Regions from separate parts of the Homo sapiens genome. Here region 2 is linked to region 1. The links are contacts of gene promoters, found by promoter capture Hi-C in blood cells and fetal thymus (Javierre and others, 2016). All regions are on one chromosome and are shown on one strand. The core of a region is centred on a gene start or on the middle of the fragment in contact, and the rest is flanking DNA. Distances in the headings are between cores, read along the strand shown. Region 1 holds the start of C9orf78 (chromosome 9 open reading frame 78). Region 2 overlaps FNBP1 (formin binding protein 1).

Region 1 (6,629 bases), core at 3,070-5,569:
TCCCCTCTGGCCCTCGCACACCCTTTCTCTCCCTCCTGCTGTCTTTACTCTACCTCCACACAACAGCATTCTCCCTAAGTCCCAGACACACCCACCCCTTCCCTTAACCCAGTCCTCACTCGGAGGCCACCATCCTCTGACTCTCGAAGCAGAGCCCTCAGGCCTCCCCATGCCTCCACACTTCCACAGTCTCTGCTGCCCACACACTTCTGTGTCTCCTCATCGCCCTTCCCCCTGCCCCACGGCCCTGAATATTGGAACTGACACTAACATCTTAGTCTGGTGTTCTCACATGTGACCTCACTGGACCCTCACAACCACCCTGGGAGGTGGCAAGGTTCCAAACTAAATCCATCTCCATCACTAACAATGGAGACACCGAGGCTCAGAGAAGTGGAATAACTGGCTAAGGTCACACAGCTACTGAGCTGCAGAACCAAAATTCGAACCCACGACTACCTGCCCTGAAGCCCATGCTCTGAACACTCAGCTCCACGATGTCACAAACAGCCCCGGCCAGCCTGGCATGGGGACGACCTTCACCTCCCCAAATCCAAACACGCGTACTCCAAGGAAGCTTCCTCACAAGAGCCTCTTCTGAGTCATTCTTCAGAGCATTTTTCTGCTCAGCTTAACTTCCTTCAGTCTAGGATATGACAGTATCTCCCTGCAGCTCAAAGCCTGCTACTACCCTTTGCTCTGAGCTCTGTCCGGAAGAGTCCCTTAATTGGAGAAGGCGTGGGTTTGGGGCTACCCTAGGCTGCAGCCAGTCACTGGCCCAGGTCATTAAAAGCCTCACACTCAGTGGTGAGTAAGCATGAGCAGAAACTCAGTCTCGAAGCTCAGACTAGAAACCTTAGAAAAAACTCACATTAGAGATGCGGAAACTAAGAACTAGGAAAATCATGATTTCTGGGGCCTGAAATCAGATCCTCTCTTTTCAGGCAGCATGATCTGCAGCTGCCTTCCCCCATGCAATCTCAGAGTTTAAAGGGGTTTAGAAACCATGCATCTTCCCCTTAAGGCACAACTCTGCTCTGTAAAAGCCATACTGGGTTGTTCTCCAAACCCAGTTTGAGCAGTCGTTGATGATAAAATCACCCTTTTCCCAGAGGGCAGCTCTAGTTGCTACAAACCTAAGTCTTTATAATCAATGGAAATTGGCTCTCCTGAAATTTCTATTTATTGAGCCATGACTGCTCACTGGAGCCAAAGAGCACTGCCACTTTCCTGCCTTTAAATATTTGTTGTTAGCCGGGCACAGTGGCTCACACCTGTAATCCCAGCACTTTGGGAGGCTGAGGCGGGCGGATCACTCAAGGTTAGGAATTTGAGACCAGCCTGGCCAACATGGTGAAACCCCGTCTCTACTAAAAATACATAAATTAGCCAGGTGTGGTGGTGGGCGCCTGTAATCCCAGCTACTCAGGAGTCTGAGGCAGGAGAATCACTTGAACCTGGGAGGCGGAGGTTGGAGTGAGCCAAGATCGCACCACTGCACTCCAGCCTAGGCAACTGAGTGAGACTCCGTCTCAAAAAAAAAAAAAAAAATTGTTGTCAACGTGCATGGCTTCTCCAAGTTTCCTCCTTCATGCTAATGAGAACCAGTTGGATACTGTTTGTCTTGCTAAGGTAAAAGGCTAAGAACAGCCTGGCTCTTTCATCACTGTTAAATACCCCACAATCAGGACTTGAGTTCAGGGTGTACACTCTAAATAAAAGCTTTTGTAAAATAAAGTTCAAGCTTACAGACCCCTAAAACCACCAGGCAGTGACTGGAACCCAAGGCCTATCATTCAATCCACTGCTTTATCTGTCATGTTTCCAACCAAATCCCAAACCAGAATGCGCTAATTTTAATTTGCAACTCAACCTTGCCACCCTCCCGGAGGTGATTCCCTTGTTTTGCTCTATTTGTTTCTTTTCCACAGCACTTACCATCTTCTAACACACTTTACATACTTTACTGTGAGAACATACACTCAACTAATCAGGGATCTTTTGTCTCTTTTGCTGACTTATTTCAAGCACTTAGAACAGTGCCTGCTCATATAGTAAATGCTAAGAATCTGTTGAATACATTGATCCAATAAATACATTTATTGGATGCCGACTATAGCTGGGCTGTGAACTGTATCACGTTGCTGGATCCCAAATCCAATCGGACATGAATGCTCCCTGAACCCTGAAACAAGCCAACATTTCATCTGGCTCCAGAAAGGAGCTAGGAAACCAACCAAAACCTAGGTTGAATCTGTACATTTTCTTAAAACAACTGAACTCCCAAACAAGACTAAGACCTTGGATTCATCTTTGAACTGCATAGAACCTGTATTTCTCGGAGGGTCCTTTTGAGAGACAGTCTCATCCTACGCTTAAAAGGGCCCAGTGAGACTTGGGCTGCAGTCTCTTGGCAAAGCCACTTACTGCCAGATTCATAGCTGCCACTTTTTCAGCATTCCTTTTGCTAAAGAGCACTCAATTAGATCTGCCACAGCACAGGTGGTGGTTATCACTGGGTCCTCTGGCCTCATGGAGCAAGGGTGGGAGCAGCTCATCTGTACCCTGGGACTTCAGCTGAGGAGGAGGGTCCAGAAATGCCCCTGGCCTTCTTGCCCTTTCCTTAGTAGTGTCCAGTACCCCCTGGTGGATGGGCTGCTTGATGGGCAGATTCAGAGCCACCTCTGAGAGCGTGAGAGCTGCAGACGTTGACCCCCTGGACTCCTGCAGCAATTCCCAAGGAGCCTCTCCATCATCTGACAGGGACTCCGTATCCAGTGAGTGCACGTGCATCTGGGTTTGGCTGAACCAGTCTGCAGAGGGCAAGACTTTGAGACTTTAATATATGGCTTTTGACCAAAGATAAAACGCTGGTGCAAGAAGTCCCGAGTCTACTATTTTTTCCAGCCCAAGGAAGAGAAGAACAATCTCAGTGGAGACTGTTCCAGAGAAAACGTAAGGCATTCTAGAAATGCTGCCCTGCTTCGGAATGGTCTTCCAGAAAGGGGAACCCCAGACAGCCCCCATCGGCCCCTCCCCCTAGCCAATGAGATGTAACAGCAGCTGCAGCAGCAGCAAACATCTACTGCACTCCTACCGTGCCAGGCCCTGTGCAAACCGTGCGGCAGAGACTGACCTGCAACCAATTCCTGTTCCACCTCCTAGCTGGGTAACTTGAGGCGTGCACTGCCCCTCGGAGACTCCGCATTCTCATTTGTAAAACGAAAAACAATCTACCTCAAAGGATTGCTGGGAGAATTCAATGAGATGATGCTTTGCCCAGGGCCTGCCACATAGTAACTGCTTAATAAGAGGTAGTTCTCAAAGTAAGGGATGACACTGAGAAAAGGAAAACTACTGTTACTTAAGGGGTTCTTAAAAGTCCTAGAAGCCATTATTTATGCATTTAGGTATTTCCTAAGCGTTTGCTGATACCAGTTTTTCAAATAAACTTTATCCTCACAGCATCTTCGGGGTGGAAGGGGCAGAGGGTAGAGCGACAGACCTGCCGAAGGAGGAAAACCAGACCCGTGAAGGTCCAGGGGGGTGGCCGGCAAGCACCGAGGAGGAGTCCCCCGGCTCAAACCCTCTTGCGTGGCTTCAAAACATCAGACGCGCCTCTCCTCGCGGAGAAGCTGGGGGCCATTATTTGTGAGGCAGTCGGCGCTGGGACTCTAAGTCAGCACCGCAGAGAAGTGGTCATCTTTTGTTCCGAAAGAAAAAAACGCACGTCAGGGCTCAGAGCCCGAGGAAAGAAAAGTCAGCGCCCGAGACGCGAGACGCCACGCGGATGCTTTCAACGCTAGGTCAGGCCCCGGCAGAAATGAGAGGGGGGCGGCCCCGGTTCTGGAGAAGCCACGAGCCCCCAGGGAGCTCAGAGTGGGGTGGTGCTGGGGCCCAGAGGCCCCCCTGGGCGCCGACCGGAGGAGGGGAGAGGGGCGGCGGCGGCCGGGGGGGTCCCGGGCTCCGCTCACCGGGCCGCTGCGTCTGGCGTACCTGGCGAAGCCAGGCCCTGTCAGCCCGGAGCCGGGCTGGGGTCGCCAATGCTCAGAGGCCCGGCCCACAGAAGCAGCCGGTGGCGGCCCGGAACTCACCTGCACTCGCAACTGCGCCGCCGCCGCCTGTCAGTCAAGCGCGCCCCCTCTGAGGCGACGCGCAGGGTTGTGGGGCCGTCTGGCGACGCCCCACCTCCTTCCCTCTGCCGTCCAATCGGAAGAGGCTGACGCCAGGAGAGGGGGCGTGGCCACGCGGACTGTGCGTGCCGGGGGCGGGGCCAGACGGGGCAGGCGCTCTGACCGCTCTGCCGCGCGCCGGAAGCAGCCTGGGCCGCTGCGCAGAGGCGCGGCGGCTGTACAACTCGGCCGTTGTCACCATGCCGGTCGTCCGGAAGATTTTCCGTCGCCGCCGGGGCGACTCGGAGTCAGAGGAAGATGAGCAGGACTCAGAGGAGGTTCGGTGCGTTTGGGGCGGGGCTCCCATAGGCTTGGTAAAGATAGACTTGTTTGGGGGACTCACCACCGGCTCGGCGCTTCGCTGACATTGTTAACTGTGAGCTCGGGTGGTGGTTCCTTCTGCGGACGCAGAAATTGAGGCTCAAGGGGTGAGGCCACCGCCCCAAGCTCGAACGGTTGAGAGAGATGCCTCCGGGATGCGCAGTGGCTCTGACTCCCGGTGGGTCTAGGCACAAGGTCGTCCTCTGGACCACTGTGCTGGTGGCTCAGTAGCTGGGCTGGGATGCCCTCGAAGGTGCCTTATTGGCTCTGTTAGCTTTGGATTCCGCGGGGAATCACTCAGCTTATGCATTGCTGCTTCTTCTTCTTTTTAAAGATTAAAACTGGAAGAGACCAGAGAGGTACAGAACTTGAGGAAGAGGCCCAACGGGGTGAGGTGGGTACCACGCGGGGAGGAGGAGGAGGCGGCGGGGACGACAGACACATCCGCGTCCGGGTCGCTGTCACAAATATCTCCTCAGACGTAGATTTTTCTCTTGACACACTGTACACCTTCCACTGCCCAACTTGGAGAACAGCGTTCTTTGCAAATGTTTAACCAGGACATGCCCTGAGCTGTGTCGTCTCGGGGTGTGCTCCAGAGATACAGAAACAGATCACTAACTCGCGTTTTTTATTAAAACCAATTAATTGTGAAATGCATATCGATCGTTAAGAGTTTGTATAATTTAGAAAAGTATAGTCAAGACGATAAAAAGCACCCATAATTCTCCCATCCGGAAATGATCAGTGTTAACATTTTTTTTCCTTGCAGAGCCACCCAAGAATGCACTGGTATTAATATTGAATACTCTTTCCAATCTGTTTTTTTTCGTCTCTCTCTCTCAGATTGTGAACAACTTTCTATGTACTTTTATTCCCTGTTCTTTTCAACTCATTATGACATTGTGGGCATTCACCCATATTGTGGAATATTTTTCAGAAAGCCTTAATGGCTGCATAATATTCCACCAGATGTGTGTATTGTAATTTGTTAACAAATCCCCTATTTTGGGACATGTAGGTGATTTTGTAAATTTTTACTATCAAATAAGGCTGCAGTGGATATTCTCTTAAATTTATCTTTAGCTGCACTTTCCATGATGAGAATATCTTAGAAATGAGATTTCCAGGCCAAGATAATGCCAAATGGCTTTACAGGAAAGTGGCAAAGTGTACCACTTCACCACCAGCGCACCCTTCTTCCAGCATCTGCGGTGCTCGTTGAGCCCTGTCTTATGCTTATAGGCTTTTCCAGCCGGCTTGCCTACCCACCCCTCAAATCCCACCCTTGCACTAATGTTGCAATCCGCATACCTGAGAGGGTTCCTCCTTATCTCTGAATTATGCCATTTCTCTCTCTCCCCCTCTCTTTTTTTTTTGGTTTTGCTCAGTGCTGTGGCCTTGCTGGTGGGAGAGAAGGTACAAGAGGAGACCACTCTAGTGGTAAGTTATGGGGTCTTCCCTGAGTAGTTATGGCAGCCCTCCCTGCAGTGCTCTTCAGTGAGTGAGCGTGCTTCACAAAAAAAAAAATTCCACTACCATGTATTTAGATGCTTCCTCTTAACTGTGTTTGCTTTCTGCAGGATGATCCCTTTCAGATGAAGACAGGTGGTATGGTGGATATGAAGAAACTGAAGGAAAGGGGCAAAGATAAGTAAGTTCAGGACAAGCTTAGATGCAAATTCACCTTTAGCGGCTGCCTGGGTCTAGGTTCCCTCAGAGAGCTGGGGCCTGTAGCAGCAGCATTAGTAGGACATCTTGAAGCAGGTTTTGTGCTTTGCAAAGGGTGTGTTATTTAAAAACAAAGAAAGCAAAAAGTCTTTAAAAGTTAACTTAGAGCCAAGTTGGTAGACTCCTTTTGTAAGAGTGTATTGTAGGCGTGATGACTCATGCCTATAATCCCAACACTTTGGGAGGCTGAGGTTAGCTTGAGTCCAGGAGTTTAAGACCAGCCTGGGCAACATAGTGAGACCCCTGTCTCTACAAAAAAAAAAAAAAGTGTGTATGTATACACACACACACACACACACACATATGTACACACATATACACATATGTATATACACACATGTATATACACATATACACACACACACACACACATATATATATATACACACACGCATATATATATGT
Region 2 (5,794 bases), core at 2,103-4,602, 140 kb before region 1:
CTCCGCCTCCTGGATTCATGCCATTCTCCTACCTCAGCCTCCCGAGTAGCTGGGACTACAGGCGCCTGCCACCATGCCCAGCTAATTTTTTGTATTTTTAGTAGAGACGGGGTTTCACCATGTTAGCCAGGATGGTCTCGATCTCCTGACCTCGTGATCCACCCGCCTCAGCCTCCCAAAGTGCTGGGATTACAGGCATGAGCCACCGTGCCTGGCTGCTATGGCTATTTCTCTAACTATAGTCACCTAAAGTCAGGACCCAGGAGAAATCAGTCAGTAGAACCAGTGTTAGTGAGGGTTTTTTTTTTTTTTTTTTTCTGTGATTACCTCTTAGTTTTTGTGTCTATTTGTGAATATAAAGAAAAATATTTAGATTCTTAACATGGAGATGAGATTAGGAAGGGAAACTAGGATGATTTTGGCTAATCTGAATGTGTTCAATGCAAACCTGCTAGGCAGGTTAAAAGTTTTTCTAGTTAAATGTCTTAGCATCAACACCCCCAAAATATTGTCTTGACTTCCTTCAAGAAGATTTATTCACAGGTGGTTTTCATGCGCTCGCTGGTAGAGCAGCCACACAGCCTTAGAAACATGCCCTTGGCACTCTGATTTTTTTTTTTTTTTTGGAGATGGAGTTTCGCTCTTGTTGCCCAGGCTGGAGTGCAATGGTGCGATCTCGGCTCACCGAAACCTCCTCCTCCCGGGTTCAAGCGATTCTTCTGCCTCAGCCTCCTGAGTAGCTGGGATTACAGGCATGCGCCACCATGCCCAGCTAATTTTGTATTTTTTAGTAGGGACGGGGTTTCTCCATGTTGGTCAGGCCAGTCTCGAACTTCCAACCTCAGGTGATCTGTCTGCCACGGCCTCCAAAGTACTGGGATTACAGGCGTGAGCCACTGTGCCCGGCCGGCACTCTGATTTTTAAACATTTGGACACAGTTTTCCTTGGATTTGAAGAAATAATGCCCCAACTCAGGATGACCACGAGAGAATGGTGGCCTGAGAAGAAAAACAGCTCAGTGCTACAAATGAAAGCCACTGCACAGCCGGGCACCGTGGCTCACACCTGTGATCCCAGCACTTTGGGAGGCCAAGGCAGGCAGATCATTTGAGGTCTGGAGTTCGAGACTAGCCTGACCAACATGATGACACCCCATCTCTACTAAAAATACAAAAAAAATTAGCCAGATGTGGTGGCGTGCACCTGTAGTCCCAGCTACTTGGGAGGCTGAGGCAGGAGAATCGCTTGAACCCGGGAGGCAGAAGTTGCAATGAGCTGAGATCACGCTACCGCATTCCAGCCTGGGCAACAGAATGAGACTCCGTCTCAAAAAAAAAGAAAGCCACTGCATATTTACACATGGTCTGTCCTCTCCAATTAAATAATTCTGTTCTTATTTGCTCTGCTTTGAGACAAAAGATGAAAAGCTGTGCACGTTCTTAATAACAGTAGCTTCATCACACATGTTGAAAGATTGAAGGAAATGGATTTCAGCTGTGGACTTTTTTTGTTTGTTTTAAACTTGTAACAAAAGCACTAATGTTATCTTTCATTCCTGATTTCTTAATTCTCTTTCTATATAAAGCTGACATGTCTGCATTTTTATTTCAGGAATCTTTCAAAGAAGTACCAACCTAAAAAGAACTCGAAGGAGGAAGAAGAATACAAGTATGTTTACCATTGAAAATTGTCTTGTAATAGACACATGCCATTGATGACTACACACGGAAAGGAGAAATACATGTCTATAAAAATAAGTTGCATTTCCCATTCATTTTGTGTCAGTTTTTAAATTGGAGGAGAGAACAATAAAAACATAATTAACTTTTCTTATATGGAGTCACTGGACCTATGCCAGATTGTTTCAATTAAAGTAATTAGGAAAACTTTAGAATGTAATTAAGCAAAAACAGGAAGTATGGAATCTGCATTCTAGAGTTGATTTGGTTTGGCACTGTCAGGAGTCCCTGTCATGCTAGTCATTCATCCAAGAAATATGTCAATTTCAGTCAGCAATTAAGGCATCTTAACACAGACCACTCAAATATTACATCTCTAATGTATATCTAAATATCCTTTACATTAGTACATATAGCATGTATATGAATTTTGGATTATATCTTGACTAAGTATCAATGAAGCCAAATATTACATTATGCGGAGCGGTTCAGTTTTGCAAAATGAAAAGTGTTTCAATTGTAATTAATTCTGAGCCATTTTGTTGAGAACACTTGATGTGTAATGAATACTCAGGATCCTATGGGAGGTGGATGCCAATTAACCTGATTTTAATTAATATTTTCTTGGTGTAAAGCAGAATATGAATGAATGTGGCCTTGTGTGAAACAGAGTGGCGTGTGTTCTGTTCCATAGGTATACGTCATGTAAAGCTTTCATTTCCAACCTGAACGAAATGAATGATTACGCAGGGCAGCATGAAGTTATCTCCGAGAACATGGCATCACAGATCATTGTGGACTTGGCACGCTATGTTCAGGAACTGAAACAGGAGAGGAAATCAGTAAGCAAAACTTTATTCTTTTTCTTCCTAAAAGATGGACCAAACACAGTGGGAATATCCCTAGAAGATTAAAATTAAATAAAACCATATAAGACTATGGGTCTTAAACTCATACCTTTGAGAATCATATAAAAGTTATGGACCCCAGCTGGGCACGGTGGCTCATGCCTGTAATCCCAGGACTTTGGGAGGCCGAGGCAGGCGGATCACAAAGTGAGGAGTTTGAGACCAGCCTGACCAACATGGCGAAACCCCATCTCTACTAAAAATACAAAAATTAGCCAGGCGTGGTGGCATGTGGCTGTAATCCCAGCTACTCAGGAGGCTGAGGCAGGAGAAACGCTTGAACCTGGGAGGCGGAGGTTGCAGTGAGCCGAGATTTTGCACCTGTGCTCCAACCTGGGCGACAGAGCAAGACTCCGTCTCAAAAAGAAAAAAAAAAAGAAAAAAAGTTACAGACCCTGTTCCTAGAAAGTGTTTCTAGGTCTCTACGTAAAATGTCAAGGGTCCTTCAGACACTCTGAAACTCATCTGTGGACCCATATTCAAAGGAATATGCATCCCTTTGAGGAATTTAAATATATTTCAGGGTATCAGACATTTAAAAAACAAGTAAGTAATATAATATGGTGTATGCTCTGTGGAATAAATGGTATTAAAATTAGTACTTATCAGTCGGGCATGGTGGCTCACGCCTGTAATCCCAGCACTTTGGGAAGCCTAGGCAGATGGATCACCTGAGCTAAGGAGTTCGCGATCAGGCTGGTCAACATGGTGAAACCCCTTCTCTACTAAAAATATAAAAACTAGCTGGGCGTGGTGACGGGTACCCATAACCCCAGCTACTTGGGGGTCTGAAGCACGAGAATTGCTTGAACCCAGGAGGTGGAGGTTGCAGTGAGCCGAGATCTCGCCATTGCACTCCAGCCTGGGTGACAAGAGCAAAACTCCACCTCAAAAAGAAAAAAAAAAAAAAAAAATTAGTGCTTGTAAGTAGGTCAAAAAAATGGAAAGATGTCCCCAGTTACATCCATTCTTTTCCTCAGCTCATTCATTGCTATCTAATGAAGCAAACCTTATTGTTCCTCTTGCCACCATTATCGTCTTTTCATAAATAGGTTTTGTTGGTAACCAAAGAGAAAAATGGATGCTCAAAGTCTATTCTTAGTCATGATTTTGCCTTAAGGGATTTATCTTTAAGCCATGGTCTGTATCATTGTACTTCGATTGCATGTGAAGTGCGGAAAAATTTGTTACTAGTAATAAAGTAATCACGTTGGCCAGTGATAACATTTTTTTTTTTTTTGAGACGGAGTTTCACCCTTTGGTCCAGGCCCGAGTGAAGTGGTGCGATCTCGACTCCCTGAAACCTCCGCCCCCCGGGTTCAAGCGATTCTCCTCCCTCAGTAGCTGAGATTACAGGTGCCCGCCACCATGCCCAGCTAATTTTTTGTATTTTTCGTAGAGATGGGGTTTCACCATATTGGTCGGGCTGGTCTCAAACTCCTCAGACCACCGTGATCTACCCGCCTTGGCCTCCCAAAGTGCTGGGATTACAGGCGTGAGCCACCGAGCCCAGCCACAACAGTTCTTTTAATGCCCTGGGGATACATGAGCCAACAAGATTACTATGGCTTCTGCTGAAATGGAGGAGACATTAAGTAATAATGACAAAAGTGATTATTTAATTGCAATTATGGTAGTTGCCACAAAGTAAGAGTAGAACGTGCTATGAGAGCATATAATAGGATTTCTGATATGCTCATGCTCTGGGGTCAGGAAGAAGCTTCCCAAGGGACTTCGCAGTTAAGGCCTTAACAAGACTTGAGGGATGATTAGGACCTGCCTGGGACAAGCATTCAATAGAGAGCAGCCAGGGCGCTTGGGCAGGAAGGTGTTTGAAAATGTCTCAATTTAGTTCTTTCTAAACTATAAATGTGTAGCATATGGCCTTGGATAGGTTTAAAAGTTAGGAAGAGATAAATGCCTTAAGATCAACCCATTGGTTTAAAACAACAATATGCCAATAAACTGAGATGAATCTTCATCTGTTGACATTAGCACAGTGGTTCTCAACTAGGGACAGTTTTACTCCCTACTCCAGCCACATTTATCAGTGTCTGGAGACACTTTTGGTTGTCTCAGGGATTGTGGCTAAGGGGTTGCTACTGGTATCTAGAGAGAAGAGGCCAGGGAGGCAGCTAAGCCTCCTACAATATACAGGACAGCTCCCCAACGAAGAATGACCTGGCCCAAAATGTCTATAGTGCTGAGAGTGAGAAACCCTGCACTGGAGCCCTAAATTAGATGACAGTTTCTGCTGGACCATTCATTAAAGATTTCTTTAGTGACAGAAAGGATGCAGTGAAACAGAATACTAAGGTTCAGAATGAAGTACAAATATCTAATATAATAAAATAAATACCAGAAATCTTAACATGATCCTGGACTGCTTCCCTGGACCCTGAACTTCCCTTGACCTTGCAAAGGTTTATATTTTTTTCCTGGTTGTTTCTTTTGTCAATGCTTTGTCTCTCTCCTTTTTTTTTTTTTTTTTTTTTTAAGATGGAGTCTCACTGTGTTGCCCAGACTGGAGTGCAGTGGCACGATCTCGCCTAACCACAACCTCCACCTCCCAGGTTCAAGCGATTCTCCTGCCTCAGCCTCCCAAGTAGCTGGGATTACAGGCACATGCCACTATATCCGGCTAATTTTTTATATTTTTGGTAGAGATAGGGTTTCACCATGTTGGCCAGGCTGGTCTCGCACTCCTGACCTCAAATGATCCACCCGTCTTGGCCTCCCAAACTGCTGGGATTACAAGCGTGAGCCACCGTGCCCCCTCGTATTCCTTTGCTGTGTTATGGTCAAGTTGTTTTATATTTTATTTACTCACTGTTAATGATGACTTTTTTATAGTCTGTCATATCTGTATTTCGGATTTAGTTCCTTTTGTTAATCAAAAATTACAGTAATTTATGGAATAAATTATAGGTGGTACAGATACACATTAAATATCTTGCAATACATAGTGTTCCTTTTATTTTAAGAAGAACTGCAAGTACAGGTTTCTGAGTCAGATGTTCTGTTGGGAGGAGCTGTAAACATCATGCTCTTTTGAAACATTCTGTTATTAAATTAAAATGACATTTTAGAAAATCATGAAACCTTTTGAAATATTAGAACAAATATCAGTAAGCAAATGTGTGTATTTGTGCTATTTAATTTATTTATTTAATTTTGTTTGAGACGGAGTCTCGCTCTGTTGCCCG

Evidence for each region. Contacts are between HindIII fragments. The CHiCAGO score rates a contact against its expected background, and 5 or more counts as called.
Region 2: a contact is called between a fragment that was not itself captured here and the fragment with the promoter of C9orf78 in region 1, in 5 of 17 cell types (total CD8 T cells, naive CD8 T cells, total CD4 T cells and 2 more). The highest score is 7.7, in total CD8 T cells.

What each region holds. Positions count from the first base shown.
Region 1 is chr9:129,832,965-129,839,593 of GRCh38, reverse strand. C9orf78 (chromosome 9 open reading frame 78) reads left to right here and starts at 4,319. Exons shown (of 9, transcript NM_016520.3): 1 at 4,319-4,455; 2 at 4,828-4,887; 3 at 5,885-5,936; 4 at 6,077-6,147. The coding sequence starts at 4,373. USP20 (ubiquitin specific peptidase 20) reads right to left here and starts at 4,136. Exons shown (of 26, transcript NM_001110303.4): 1 at 4,095-4,136. RefSeq lists enhancers at 1-193, 3,386-3,886 and silencers at 3,858-4,007, 4,038-4,387. The HindIII fragment of the contact is 4,419 bases long and covers 1,747-6,165 here.
Region 2 is chr9:129,975,193-129,980,986 of GRCh38, reverse strand. It overlaps FNBP1 (formin binding protein 1), which reads left to right. Exons shown (of 17, transcript NM_015033.3): 3 at 1,613-1,669; 4 at 2,375-2,522. Among named protein-coding and RNA genes, the nearest start is that of FNBP1, 65 kb to the left of the region's middle. The HindIII fragment of the contact is 1,917 bases long and covers 2,394-4,310 here.